Regions from separate parts of the Homo sapiens genome. Here region 2 is linked to region 1. Evidence: promoter capture Hi-C in 16 types of primary human blood cells and fetal thymus (Javierre and others, 2016). All regions are on one chromosome and are shown on one strand. Each heading gives the region's core, a stretch centred on a gene start or on the middle of the fragment in contact. The rest is flanking DNA. Distances are from core to core; before and after follow the strand shown.

Region 1 (6,486 bases), core at 3,608-6,107:
GGCCGTGAAGCCCTGGAGGCCAATTATTTATGATGCTGGGAGAGAAAGAAGACAGGGTAGGGTGATTTCTGCTTGGCCCATCAGCCTGCCTGAGCCCACAAGGCTGTGAGTCCCTTTGAAATGGCCTTGGGACTCATCTTTTGACCCTTCTGATCCACAGCCTGCTCCCCTAAAGAGCTCAAGATGACTTTCTGTTCTTACCATTCACTCATTTGAAACTTGATCATAGGTGGCCTGGGGACATCTCTTGTCTTATTCTTTAGCTTTTAGATTATGATTTAACTTTTTCCCATGGGATGTTTGATCTCAGTTCCTTGAAGGCAGAGAAGCCCCTGGTGACAGGTGGCAGTCTGGACATGTTGTAGGCATGGCAGGGACTAGGAGAATCAGTTGTTCTTGGGTCTACACCTACAATGTTAAGATGCACGGCAGGAAGCAGAACAGATGACAGAGCTTTTGTTTTGAGAGCACGCAAACAAGGAGAATGTGAGGCATTTTTTAAAAGATGGAATCCAAATTAATATTTTATTTGGACACTCTTTTAGACATGCATCATCTAATTTTCTTAACCCTTCATGCCATTTTGTATAGGTAGACTCCCTTCAACTACAGGGAAAAGTGGTGCTGACATCACAGGTCTGGACAGAGCTGTCCTTTTGGAAGGGTAATGGTCTGTGATTGCCAGAAGCTGCATATGTCAGTCCCTTTCCACCACAGCTATCTTTAATTACTCAGAACACCTGTCCTTGCCCTGCAGAAGTAACAATTTGTTTCATGGTAATCTCCCATCATTGACCCTTGGCACCATAAGTGGTGCATTCATTCATTTATTCATTATATGTTTACTTAAAACTTACCACTCTATGGGGAAGCACTGAACTAGAAGATTGGAAGACAGGATCATAAAATGCAGCTACTGCCCTCGAGGGGGACTCCTTCTAATGGAGTAACAAATAGCTACCTGACAGGGTTGGGTTATAACACAAATGCTCCAGGAATAGAGGAAGACCAGAGAAGGCATTTCAGAGCTGAATATAGCATGTGACTTGGGTTTTTAAAGATGAGTTAGCAAGCCATTATGTGTAGAATCAGAAAAAATATTTGAGGCAAAGGGATAGTTTGTGCCAAGGCAGGAAGACATGAAAGAGCCTGGAGCAGCTGAGAAAGACAATCTGTTGGAATGGACTGACTGCTGGTGTGTGTTTTGGAAGGAGGGGTTGATAAGCCTGGAGAGGTGGTAAAGAATCTTGATGCCATGTCTCATGTCTATCTTAACCAGTAGCTAAGGGGAAACCAGCTGGGTTTTTTATAGAAATAAAATGATTAGGGTTAGTTTTAGTAGCATTGTTCTGATGTGAAGAGACAATTAGGAGATGTCATTCTAGAAGGCAAGAAACATGAGTCTTGCCTAGATTCTTGCCTGCCAGTCAAAGGGAGGTCTAGATTAAGGGACAGTGAGGCTTTAGAGAAAAACAGGAGTGAGGATGGACATATCTGGTGCCCTATTGGAAGGGAAGGAGAATTTTGAGGCAACTTTTGGGTGGTAGGGTCCACTTACTGACATAAGGAATACTAGAAAAGGGGTTGTTTTTTAATATGGGTAGAGTATAAACTTGCATTTGCACCAATAAATGTTACTCATGGCTTGTAACGTTTTAGCATTGTACCCCTTCCCTTGAAAATCACACAGTGTCAATTTCATGACTGGTGGCAGTGTCCCATTTAAAGACCTCCTGCCGTTATTAAAATCCCTCTCCTCCTCCACATACTTTCCTTTCTCCCACAACAGACTCCCTCTACATGAACTCCTCCCCACTGCGAGACACCAATCAGAGTTCAGACTGAGGGCAAGCATGGAGCAGCACTGGGCGCTGGTGCAAGTACAATTTCTATAAAAAGACATTGAGAAAACAATGAGCAATGTTGCCATTTTGCCTTTAATGGAAAAGTGGCCAGCAGTTACAGTAAAAAAAAAAAAAAAAAAAAAAAAAAAAAAGTTCTTTTAATAAAACAAAACAAAATTTTATCCAGCTTCTAGGCAATCACTGTTTGAATTTTCAGAAATACACATGTACTTGAAAATCAATTTTTTTATAAAAATAAACTCTGAATGTGTGATTAAAAAGCGAGAAGCCCAGTCTTTTAGCTGCACAAATGCGTATTAAAAAGGAGAGGCATCTGTCTGAGATAGTTCACCCCAGTGCAGAGGGGGCTTTGACTTTGGGAGACAGAGCCTGCTTGAAGCGTCTCTTCAGGTCCTGCATGTTGGGAGAGCGGGGCCGAGGGATGATGGAGGCTCTTCTTCTTTCCCCACTGAGGCCGTGCATCTTGCTCACTTCTTTGCAGAGATGCTGAAACACATCACAGACATCTTCGTAGTTTTCGCTAGTGGAAATTTCAAGGAACAGGCTGCCCAGCTCATTGGCTAGCTGAATACCGTCCTGTGTCTGCACCTGCCGGGCATGCAAAAGGTCCCCCTTGTTGCCCACGATGATGACAGGGGCTTTAGAGTCAGGGTGGACCTTCCGGATGTGCTGATAAAGGGGTCGGATGGACAAGTAGCTGTCATAGTCTGTGATGGAATAGACCAGCAGAAAACCCTCGGCCCACTGCACGCATTTGGACAGGGAATCGACGACCTGGGGGAGGCTGTCTTGGATCTGAGAAAACATCAAAATGAGATCCAGTCAAGGAAACCCTCAGTGGGAGATAAACTCAAAACAACATCAAGGCAACCCTTGAAGAAACACTTGAAAAAGAAATCTCTAAATACAGTTTTCAGTTTCCACCCAGCTTCTGCAGAAGCAGGCTTTTGATATGGAAAGAACAGATTCCCAGGCAAACTCCCTGCCTGAGTTACTTTATTAGCTGTTATCCCTGCATTATTTTTAAACCCCTTGCTTGTCAGGCAGTCTCTGGTGAACCATGGCTGACTGAAGAATGACCTCAAACCAGAATGGCTCAAGTTTTAGGAAACACTAACTCATAATAAACAAAACTTTGAAAATAAGCCAAGATAAATATCTATTCCCAAACTCATAAAAACATTTTTAACATGCACTTCTTAAGAATGTTACAGAAAGAAATTCCTTTCTTAGGGTTCTTCCACAAGACCTTTCCTCTGGAGAACGGAGTAGCAATTAGTAACTGGTTAATAAACAAGTTACATTCTAGACCCTCTGCCAAGGGGTTATCTGATTGCAATTACTGACTTGAGGGAACAGCCATTAACAGCAGCAGTTCAGCAGTGCTTGGGCCGGGCGCTGTGGCTCATGCCTATAATCCCACCACTTTGGGAGGCCGAGGTGGGCGGATCACTTGAGGTCAGGAGTTCGAGACCAGCCTGGCCAACATAGTGAAACCCCATCTCTACTAATAAATAAATAAATAGATAAATAGCTGGGAGTTCCGGCGGGTGCCTGTAGTCCCAGCTACTCGGGAGACTGAAGCAGGAGAATCGAGGAGAATCGCTGGAACCTAGGAGGCGGAAGTTGCAGTGAGCTGAGATCCAGCCACTGCACTCCAGCCTGGGCAAGAGTGAAACTCCGTCTCAAAAAAAGCAGAGCTTGCCAGGGGAGAAGAGTCTCTCCCATCAGAATCCTACCTCTTTTTTTGTTTTGTTTTGTTTTGTTTTAAACGTTTTTTTCTTTGTTAATGGTTCCATGGCTACCTCCGGAAGAAATGGTGAGACCTGCTTAAGTAGTGATGGCCCACCAGGGTTGCAAAGTGAAGTTAAGTCAGGTGCTTAACAAGAGGAGGCTGCTTCTAACCATGCCTCCCCCTTAGAGAGTTTCTAACACCCCAACCACTGGCCCCACCTGTGGACAGCCCATTCCTCCCTCTAAACGCACAGGTCGGTTTAGATGCCTTGCTCAGACCCCTGCGCCCAGCATGGGCGCCCTACGTGCTGTGCCCACTGGGGTGGTCTCACGGGTGGGGGTGAGCTGTTTGCCCCTGGCGGTTCTTACCTGGACGCCCCCGGGAGTATCCTGGATCTGCAGGGAGAGCTGGTCCCCCTCGACATAGACCAGCCGTGAATACAGCTTGCCTGGAGAATGAAGTAGAGTTTGCTTTTTAATTCTCAAACTCCCATCCGTAAAAAGAAACACGCAAGCATAAAAGCAGGGAGCGTGAAAGTATTCTCACCTGTATTCGGTTCATAGTCTCCAATGAATCTCTTGGTCAGGAAGCGCACGATCATTGCTGAAAAGGAAATAGGAAAATCAACCGAAGGAGTAGAACAAGCCTGTCAAACCCAGGCACCTCGGACAAACTGGGGGGAGTGAAGGGTGCAGAACCGTGGGCACTGCTCGCTTCCAGAGGCTCCGCAAAGCCGTGGTGCCGCGGGCTTGGCCGCGAGTACGACTGGCGGGACACCTCTCCCGCACCCCATCCCCGAACAGGCGCCAATCCCGCCGAGATCCCAGGAGTAGATGCACCAGGAAACGCCAGGGAAGCAGGCCGGGACGGACCGGGACCCACCCAGCGCGAAAGCAGCCCGATTCTACCTGCACCCGCGCCCTCTGCTTCGGCCGAGGCGCCCTCTCTCCGCAGCGCCCCCAGTGGTCGCGGCCGGAGCCGGGGAGCGAAGCCGCCCGGGGGTCCCCGCCGCACTCACCGCTCTTGCCCACGCGGCCGGCGCCCAGCACCGCCAGTTTGATGTCCTTGGGCAGTAGGTAGTCCGAGGAGGACTCGGGGATGGGTGCGAGCAGAAAGTGCCCGGACATGCTGAGCGGCCGCATGGAGCGCGTCCCGGGGTCCGGCGCGCAATCCGAGAGGGCTGGGCCTCGCCGCACCCGGAGCCGGCTCGCCAGCTGGGAGTGCGGGACTAGAGGTCCGGGACCGCGGCGGCTGCCTGCAGAACTGTCAAGGCCCGCGGCTTTTAAAGGGCTTGGTGCGCCCGGGAGCGCGGCGGCCGTCCCAGCTCCTCCTCGTCTCCGCCCCTTCCCGGAGCGGCCGGGAGGGGCGGGAGCAGAGGCCGCGGAGCTGACTATCGCCGAGGCTGTGCGCTTCGCCGGGCTGCTAGCTGCTCGCGGCTCCAGGCGCTCTGCGGCAGGACTGCGGCTCCGGGGCTCAGACCCTGGAGATACGGCCACCGTCCAGAGCGCGCGAGTGGCCTCTAGTCAGGCATTCTGCGAGTCTCCTCGCCCCGCAGCAGCCAGCCGGAGTCACTAGACCTGTGGGTGAACTTGAGATAGGAGTTACGAGTTGACGAGAGAAGAAGAAAAAGTGCAATCAGTTGGATGTTTCTGCAACAATGGGACAGATTGCTGTAAAACGCTGCCCTTTTTATTTTTAAAAGGTGCTAAGGGGCTGGGCGCGGTGGCTTACGCCTGTAATCCCAGCACTTTGGGAGGCCCAGGTGGGCAAGATCATCTGCGGTCAGGAGTTCAAGACCAGCCTGGCCAACATGGCGAAACGCTGTCTCTACTAAAAATACAAAAATTAGCGGGGCGTGGTGGTGGGCGCCTGTAATCCCAACTACTCGGGAGGCTGAGGCAGCAGAATCGCTTGAACTAGGGAGGCGGAGGTTGCAGTGAGCCGAGATGGCACCACTGCACTCCAGCCTGGACCACAAGAGCGAAACTCCGTCTCAAAAAAAAAAAAAAAAGAAAGAAAAGAAAAGATGCTAAGGGGTAACATTAATATGGGAAAAGGGCGGGGGGCGGGGGGCAAGAGCTCTGAATTAGTATCAGTGGAGGCAACTGCAGTCACTGTGACCTTGCTAGGGATAGATGAAGTCCCCTTAGGGGCAGTGATGGTTAGCATCTCAGTATCCATGCCCAGCCCCTCCTCTGCAGGCAGGGGTTGCACTGGCTCATTCCTGAACACTCATGAGCACTCCACTGGCTGGGGGCCCTGGCCCTGCACTAAGTGTCCATCATTAATACTATCCTATGTGCTTGAGTCATGCATTTGCTTCAGTATCCAAATATTTACTTCTAGGTGCATGGTGGGGTCTAGGGTGGGGTGGGGGGCAGTGTGAGGAACAGGACACAGAGCTATAGACTGGTTCTTGGATTTCTGGAGCCCACCAGAAATAGCACAGCAGAAGCCTCAGGACTTTAACCTTGAACAGTTAGAAGACCTTCATGCCTCTGACCTCCTGTGTTCCAGCCTCACTTGCCTAATCGCCTATTAGACAGCCCCACCCTAATTCATACCTTTCTCTACCCTGGTTGTACCAGTTTTTGCTGCATGACAAGCCACACCAAACTAGATGGCTTAGAACAACAATCACTTACAGTTGTTGAGCCCTTTGATGCATCTGCAGGGAGCTTCCAGGTTCTGGAAGTGGGGGCTGGCTGCCCTTGGATAGCCTTACTCATGTCTGGCAGCTGTTGGCTGTGATGAGGGAGGGTAGTGACTGAGTTACATGTCTCTTCTCATTCAGCACGTTGGCCAGGGCCTGCCTTCATGGTAGCTGAGCAGAGTTCCAAGAGAGTGGGTGGAAATGGATAAGGCCTCTTGAGACCTAGGCCTTGA
Region 2 (6,267 bases), core at 3,713-6,212, 110 kb after region 1:
GTCTTACCTGTAGCTTCTTTTCTTTTTTTTTTTTCTTTTTTTTTTTTTTTTTAAGACAGGTCTTGCTCTATTGCTCAGGCTGTCTCCTACATTTAAACCATCCTCCTGCCTTGGCCTCCCAAGGTGCTGGGATGACAGGTGTGAGCCACTGCACCTGGCTATGTCTGTATTCTTGTGGGCTTTACATATACTATTTTCTCTGTGTGTCCTGATGAGAAGATTGAAAACCAGCTCTACTTACAGTATTGTAGAAGAGGATGGACGTATAAAACAAATGCATGCAATGAGATGTTTTTCTTATTGGTATAAGTAATGGTAATTATATGTGAAAGAGAAGGTGGTTTTGGGAGAGAGAAGAGGGCTTCAGGAAAAAGCTTCTTAGAAGAGAGTTGAACTTTGCAAAATGAATGGCCTTTATTATGTGGACATGGAGGGATGGGATACCAGATGTAAATAGATAATGTGTTACTCTTAGGCTCTGTAGGTGGTTTGGCGTGAAAGCGGGTCTTGTGAACAGTAAGGCTGGAGAGTAGGAAGGGGGCATATTTAAAGAAGTACCAGGAGTTTACCAAGTATTGATTCACATTAAAATGATTATTAAAGTGTGTGTTTAGCCTGAGGAAATGTAAGTCCAGAGGACAGTCATGAGGATATAAGAAACAATGGAGTTGGTAAAAATATGCTGGTAAATTGAATTACATTGATTTTTCAAAATTTGCTTGTATTTTTTTTAAGAAGAGAAAATGACAACAAAACAAGATGGATGGGGTACAAGGACAGTTCAGTGGGTTGTTAAAACTTGTTAAGGGCCTCCTTGTTTAAGAGCCAACTAAACAACCACTATTGGAAAATTTTGGATTGTATATACATGTTAAAAAATTAAGGATAAATACACACCCACACAGGGAGTGAATTTTCTTGCTTCCGTAGCAGCAGACATTTAAACGTTACCATTCAAACTCTGAGGGAAGGAAAATAGGAAAAACAAAATGAAAAAGAATGACAGAAAACACAGGTGGAAGAAATAAGCTCTTCTAGTTCATTAATCATAATAATCCAAATGGTTCAAACTTACTTTCATTGTATTAAAGGAACTATCAGAATGGATAAAAAACAAAATATTGCTCAATAAGAAACCTACCTAAAATGAAAGGGCAATCTCTTTAACAGTAACACGATAGTATTGTCACAACTAAGAAAATTAACAATAGATTTTTTTTGAGGTATTTCAAAAGCATTAATTTTATTTTGTTGTTGTTATTAGTCTTTCTCTATCTGTCATCTTGAAGATCCATTCAGAATTAGGAAAGGTTAGGTAGTATTAGCCCCATTTTCACAAAATGGAAAAGGAAGCTTAAAGTCAGCCCTGCAGCAGCTAGGGATGGGGTCCAAATTTCTAGACATGCAAACTCGTTATGACATCTACAGGGCAATGTGTTGCAGGTTTGATGGTTGAGACAAAATTACTCCTTTTCAAACAAGAGATTGGGGAATTTTTATTCCTGACTTTTCGGCTGCATATCTGTGTGTGTGTGACTTTGAGTCCTCACTAATTATTTTCACTTGGGTAGGCCGTTTAACTGGTTTCAGTTATGAAATGGAATAATAATTTCCCCATTAGATCAGATGAGATGACACATGTGAACGTCCTTTGTACTATAAATACATATCAACATCACCCTTACATGGTCATTGTTGGTAAGACTCCATGCCCTCTTAAGGAAAGGATGGAAAGCACATTAAGATACTGTGGACTGTAGGAGTTGTAACGGAGCTCACAAGTTACCTTTGACAAAGCGTAGTCATTTCAAAGTTTGAAAATGAGTATTTTAATGATCCATGAAGCAAAGTTTTAGATTACCCTTAAAATCTTTACTATGTTAAAAATGTACAGTTAATGAGTGGCTTTTTAATTTTTTTTTATTTTTTTTTATTTTTTGAGACAGAGCCTTGCTCTGTTGCCCAGGCTGGAGTGCAGTGGTGCAGTCTCGCCTCATTGAAACCTCTGCCCCCCGGGCTCAAGCTATCCTCCTGCCTGAGCCTCCCAAGTATCTGGGACTACAGGCACACACTACCATGCCCAGCTATTTTTTCTTTTTAATTAATTTTTTTTGTAGAGACAGGGTTTCACCATGTTGCCCAGGCTGGTCTCAAACTCAAGTGATGTAGCTGGCCTCCCAAAATGCTGCAATTACACGTGTGAACCACTGCACCTGGCCTGTAGTTAACTTCTGATGGCAGTAAACACTGCAATTCCCTATTAGTAACATTTTTTTTTAAAGGTATAAAATTATAGTGAGTAAATTGCCTTTATTTCTACAGTATTGGTCTACCTGGGTTTTTCAGGGATCCCTGAAAAGAGACTTTCAAAATTAGAGCCCATCTGGGCACAAGTAAAATAAGTCATAAAGTACTTAAGTTGTAGGGGTAAGGAGACAATAAAATACAAGGCTTTTGTTCTTTGGAATGGAAAATGCATTTATAATTTGAGATTCTGTAGATGAACATTTATTCTGCTTTGTATGTGATTATCTTAGTCCAAAAATCTAGCCGTTATAACTTTGAAGAAATTATTTCTGCTGTTTCTCTGGCATATTGTTTCACAATTTTTCTTTGCTGATGTTGCAAAGGTTCCCTGTTTGTTTAATTTGCTTAATGAAGAGACTCATATGCAGGATGGTTAAGGTGGTACCTTGGGGGTAGTAGCTGGGACTTTGAAGTTTGCGTTAGGAGGTATATCTTAATAGAGCAGGGGGATTCTCTTTTCCACAAAACGGGATATAATGTTTAGAAGGTTTCAGACTTAACGGCCTTGAAAGATGACGCTTTGTGGAGGGGAACGCTACACACTGGGGCCTGTGGGGAGGATGGCGGGAGGGAGAGCATCAGGAAGAAGAGCTGATGGATGCTGGGCTTAACCCGGGGAGATGGGTTGAGCTGTGCAGCAAACCACCATGATACGTTTACCTGTGTCACAAACCTGCACATCCTGCACATGTACCCTGTAACTTAAGGTTGAAGGGGGAAAAAAAAAAAAAAGAAACATGATGCTTTGGTTCTTTTAAGAACAGGTGAGGAATAGGAATCAAGTGGTTTCACTGTTTGTTGTTTGATGGACCTAGAGGTTTAAAGCTGATAATTTCTTCAGACTGATGTGCTCAGGGTTTTTATGTAAAGGTGGACAAAATTTGGAACAAATTTGAAACATCAAAGGCTCAAAAACTAGATACAACGGACCAAAAACAAAACCAAAAATATTGTGCTTTTGGTTCTGCTAGGCAAATTAGAATCTTTTCATTGTCTGGTGTTGCATTTTTTTTTTTTTAAAGACAGTTCACTTTTTTAAAGTTTACTGGTTAGTTTCATTTGTTTTTATTGCATTTTTTTTTTCAATTTGAGGAGGCTTATATCTCCTCCACGGGGGACCCTGCTGAACAAGGACCTGCCATTGTCATGTGACTGGTTAAAGCAGAGGCCTTCACTTAACTTGGCAAATGAAAAACTAAAAGGAAGCAACTTTTACTTCTGGTTGTTTTCTCACTATACACATCAAGCCTTAGCCAGATAAAAATGCTTGGATATTTGTATCATTGTCTTAGTTGGAGACATTATGTTGCCCTTTTTAACTAAAAAGATACAAGTGAAATCTGTCACCTTTTTTTGTTCTCTGTTTAGTTTCTTTCTTTATTGAGTTTTTCCAGCTTTACTGAGGTATAATTGACACATGGTATGTATTTAAGGTGGTATTTTCGTTCTTTAAAGACTGCACAGTTGCCTTTGCTCAGGTTACTCCTCCTGCCAAGTGTTCGCAATTCCGCTCTTTCAGGTTTTTACTTCCTTGTGTCCTTAAAGCTTCTCTTCTGTTACACATTTTCATCCCAGATGTTAGTTGCTTTAATAGTCTACTTTCTTTCCTTTTCATCTCTGAAACTGGGTTGTAGTTATTATACCATTTCAGTGCTAATAGCCTACCGTGATGTTCTTGCCATTTTATGTTAATGATGACTTAGGTCATCTTCCCTGACTTGTAAAGTTGAATGTGACATCTGTAATTTTAGCTTTCCCAAGGAACTTATATAGGAGTCTGACATTTATTGAGTGGCTACTTGGTGATGCTATTGCTAGGCATTTCACAGATTCAGATCTCACAATGATAAAAAATAAAGGTGTAGGAAAGTTTGAGTTTAGATAAATGTATAGATGATAAATCTAGAACAGACTGTTAAAGAGAGTTAGGATATTTGGGTACATTTTTGGTTGACATCCAAGTTAACAAGGCCCTCTGCAAATGTTACTGGATATTGATAGAGAAGGCTGGATTGAATAGGTGTGGCCTAGTTGAGAAATGAAATTTAATGATAGAACACTTGTAAAACACCAGAATTATATGCCTGATGCAAATGGAATGGTGTTTGAAAAATCTTATTTTCTTCCTGACATTTTTAGGAACAGCCTGTGTTTAATATGGACTTTGAAATATAATGTCATGGTAACTTTTAGAAATGGGGTGGTAGATACGCCCTTGTAATTTAGTAATTGATACATTGTTTTTTGAACTACCAGAGTGAGGATTTTAAAAGAATTAAATTATTCAGGTTTAACTGTATATACTCTTAAAGAAAAATGTGATATCTGATTACCTTAGAAATGGTAGTTTCTTTTAATTTTGCAATTTTAGAAGTTTAAGAAAAACCAAACCACTTACTATTTTTAAAACTGCAAAATTGTGTGAGTTTAAAAAATTCATTTCTTACAAGGAAGAGGGGCCGCCCTTTCCCAAGAAGTAATTGCTAGAAAGAGTTGGGATATGTGTGTGTTTATTGCCAGACATTACCTGTGCATATACAAACATGAGGTATTGTGTGTGTGTCACCCCCACTCCCCCCAAAATTTAAAACTGCAGGTTTATTTGCTTTTTCACCTAACAGTGTATATTTTTGGTTGTCATCATGTTTCATTCCATGTCAAAACTCTTGTGTGCATTTTAATTTCCCATGATCTTCAATGTCTATCATATTGAAAGGTTTGGTTATATAATACTGTTTGCACATTTTCATTTTATTAAACAATAATTTTATTAGTTTCCTAGGGCTGCCATAACAAAGTGCCAGAAACTGTGTGTGGATTATAATACTGTATTGTTACTGTACCTTTTCTACGTTTAGATGTGTTTAGAGACATGAATACTTACCATTGTGTTACAGTTACCTACAGGATCCAGTACAGTCATATGCTGTACAGGTTTGTGGCCTAGGAGCAAGAGGCTAGACCACATAGCCTAAGTGTGTAGTGGGCTGTACCATCTAGGTTTGCGTGAGTACACTCTATGACATACGCACCATGATGAAATTGCTTAACAGTCAATTTCTCAGAATGTATCCCTGTCATTAAGTGGTGCATGCCTGTAACAGAAATTTATCGTCCTAACAATTCTGTAGGCTAGAAGTCCAGAATCAGGATGTCGACAGGGTTGGTTCCCTCTGAGGGCTATGAGGAGACTCTCTTCCATTTTCTACCCTAGCTACTGGTGGTTTTCTGGCAGTGGATGCATCATTCCAATCTTTTCACATGGCATTCTCCCTGTGTCTCTGTCTCCATTTTGTCTTCCTTCTATGCCTGTGTCCGAATTTTCCCTTTCTACACAGACACCAGTCACACTGGATTAGGGTCCACCCTAATGACTTCATTGTAACTTGATTACTTCTGTAAAGACCCTATTTCAAAATAAGGTCATATTCTGAGATATTGGGGCTTAAGACTTAAACGTACCTTTATTAGGGAACACAGTTCACCCAGTAAAACTAATGGCGCAATCAGGTCCATTGCAATTAATGTCAAGGAATATTCATTAAGTTGGGTTATGTGCTAGACCCTAGAGATTCAAAGCTGTTTAAGTTCCAAAGGGCTTGCAGTCTAGTTGGGGAGACCAGCTTTGTGTATAATAATGTAAACTGATACAAACTTGATAAGCTGTATTTTGATGTGTACAGGGAAGACAGACTGGTATTTGGAGTGAGGCCTGCATCAGTTGGAGAAGGAAGGCTTTTGGGAGTGGTGGGGAGGGAAGCTTGGTGGAATTTGAAAGGTAACTTGGAGAAAAATGAAGAGGACAAAGGTCCTGGCGAGGAAGTGAGAAGTGAATTAAAATAACAAGAGAGAAATAAGGTTAAGTGATTAAAATTACTTACATGATTTAATGTTTCAGTAATTTTGTCCTCAAACTTGTTAAATTGATTGGGTTCATATTGGTTTAGGGAAAAATCTTCT

The links. The method cuts DNA at HindIII sites, captures the fragments that hold promoters and counts their contacts. A CHiCAGO score of 5 or more calls a contact.
Region 2: a fragment that was not itself captured here is called in contact with the fragment with the promoter of RASL11A in region 1 in 1 of 17 cell types (naive B cells); the score reaches 5.6 in naive B cells.

What each region holds. Positions count from the first base shown.
Region 1 is chr13:27,269,201-27,275,686 of GRCh38, reverse strand. It overlaps RASL11A (RAS like family 11 member A), which reads right to left and starts at 4,857. Exons shown (of 4, transcript NM_206827.2): 1 at 4,619-4,857; 2 at 4,147-4,203; 3 at 3,969-4,048; 4 at 495-2,660. The coding sequence starts at 4,742. The coding sequence ends at 2,193. RefSeq lists silencers at 4,457-4,686, 4,727-4,946 and an enhancer at 4,895-5,395. The HindIII fragment of the contact is 11,897 bases long and covers 1-6,486 here.
Region 2 is chr13:27,157,554-27,163,820 of GRCh38, reverse strand. The region is part of intron 1 of USP12 (ubiquitin specific peptidase 12); the gene reads left to right. USP12-AS1 (USP12 antisense RNA 1) reads right to left here. Exons shown (of 3, transcript NR_046547.1): 2 at 898-961. Among named protein-coding and RNA genes, the nearest start is that of USP12, 11 kb to the left of the region's middle. The HindIII fragment of the contact is 2,215 bases long and covers 3,855-6,069 here.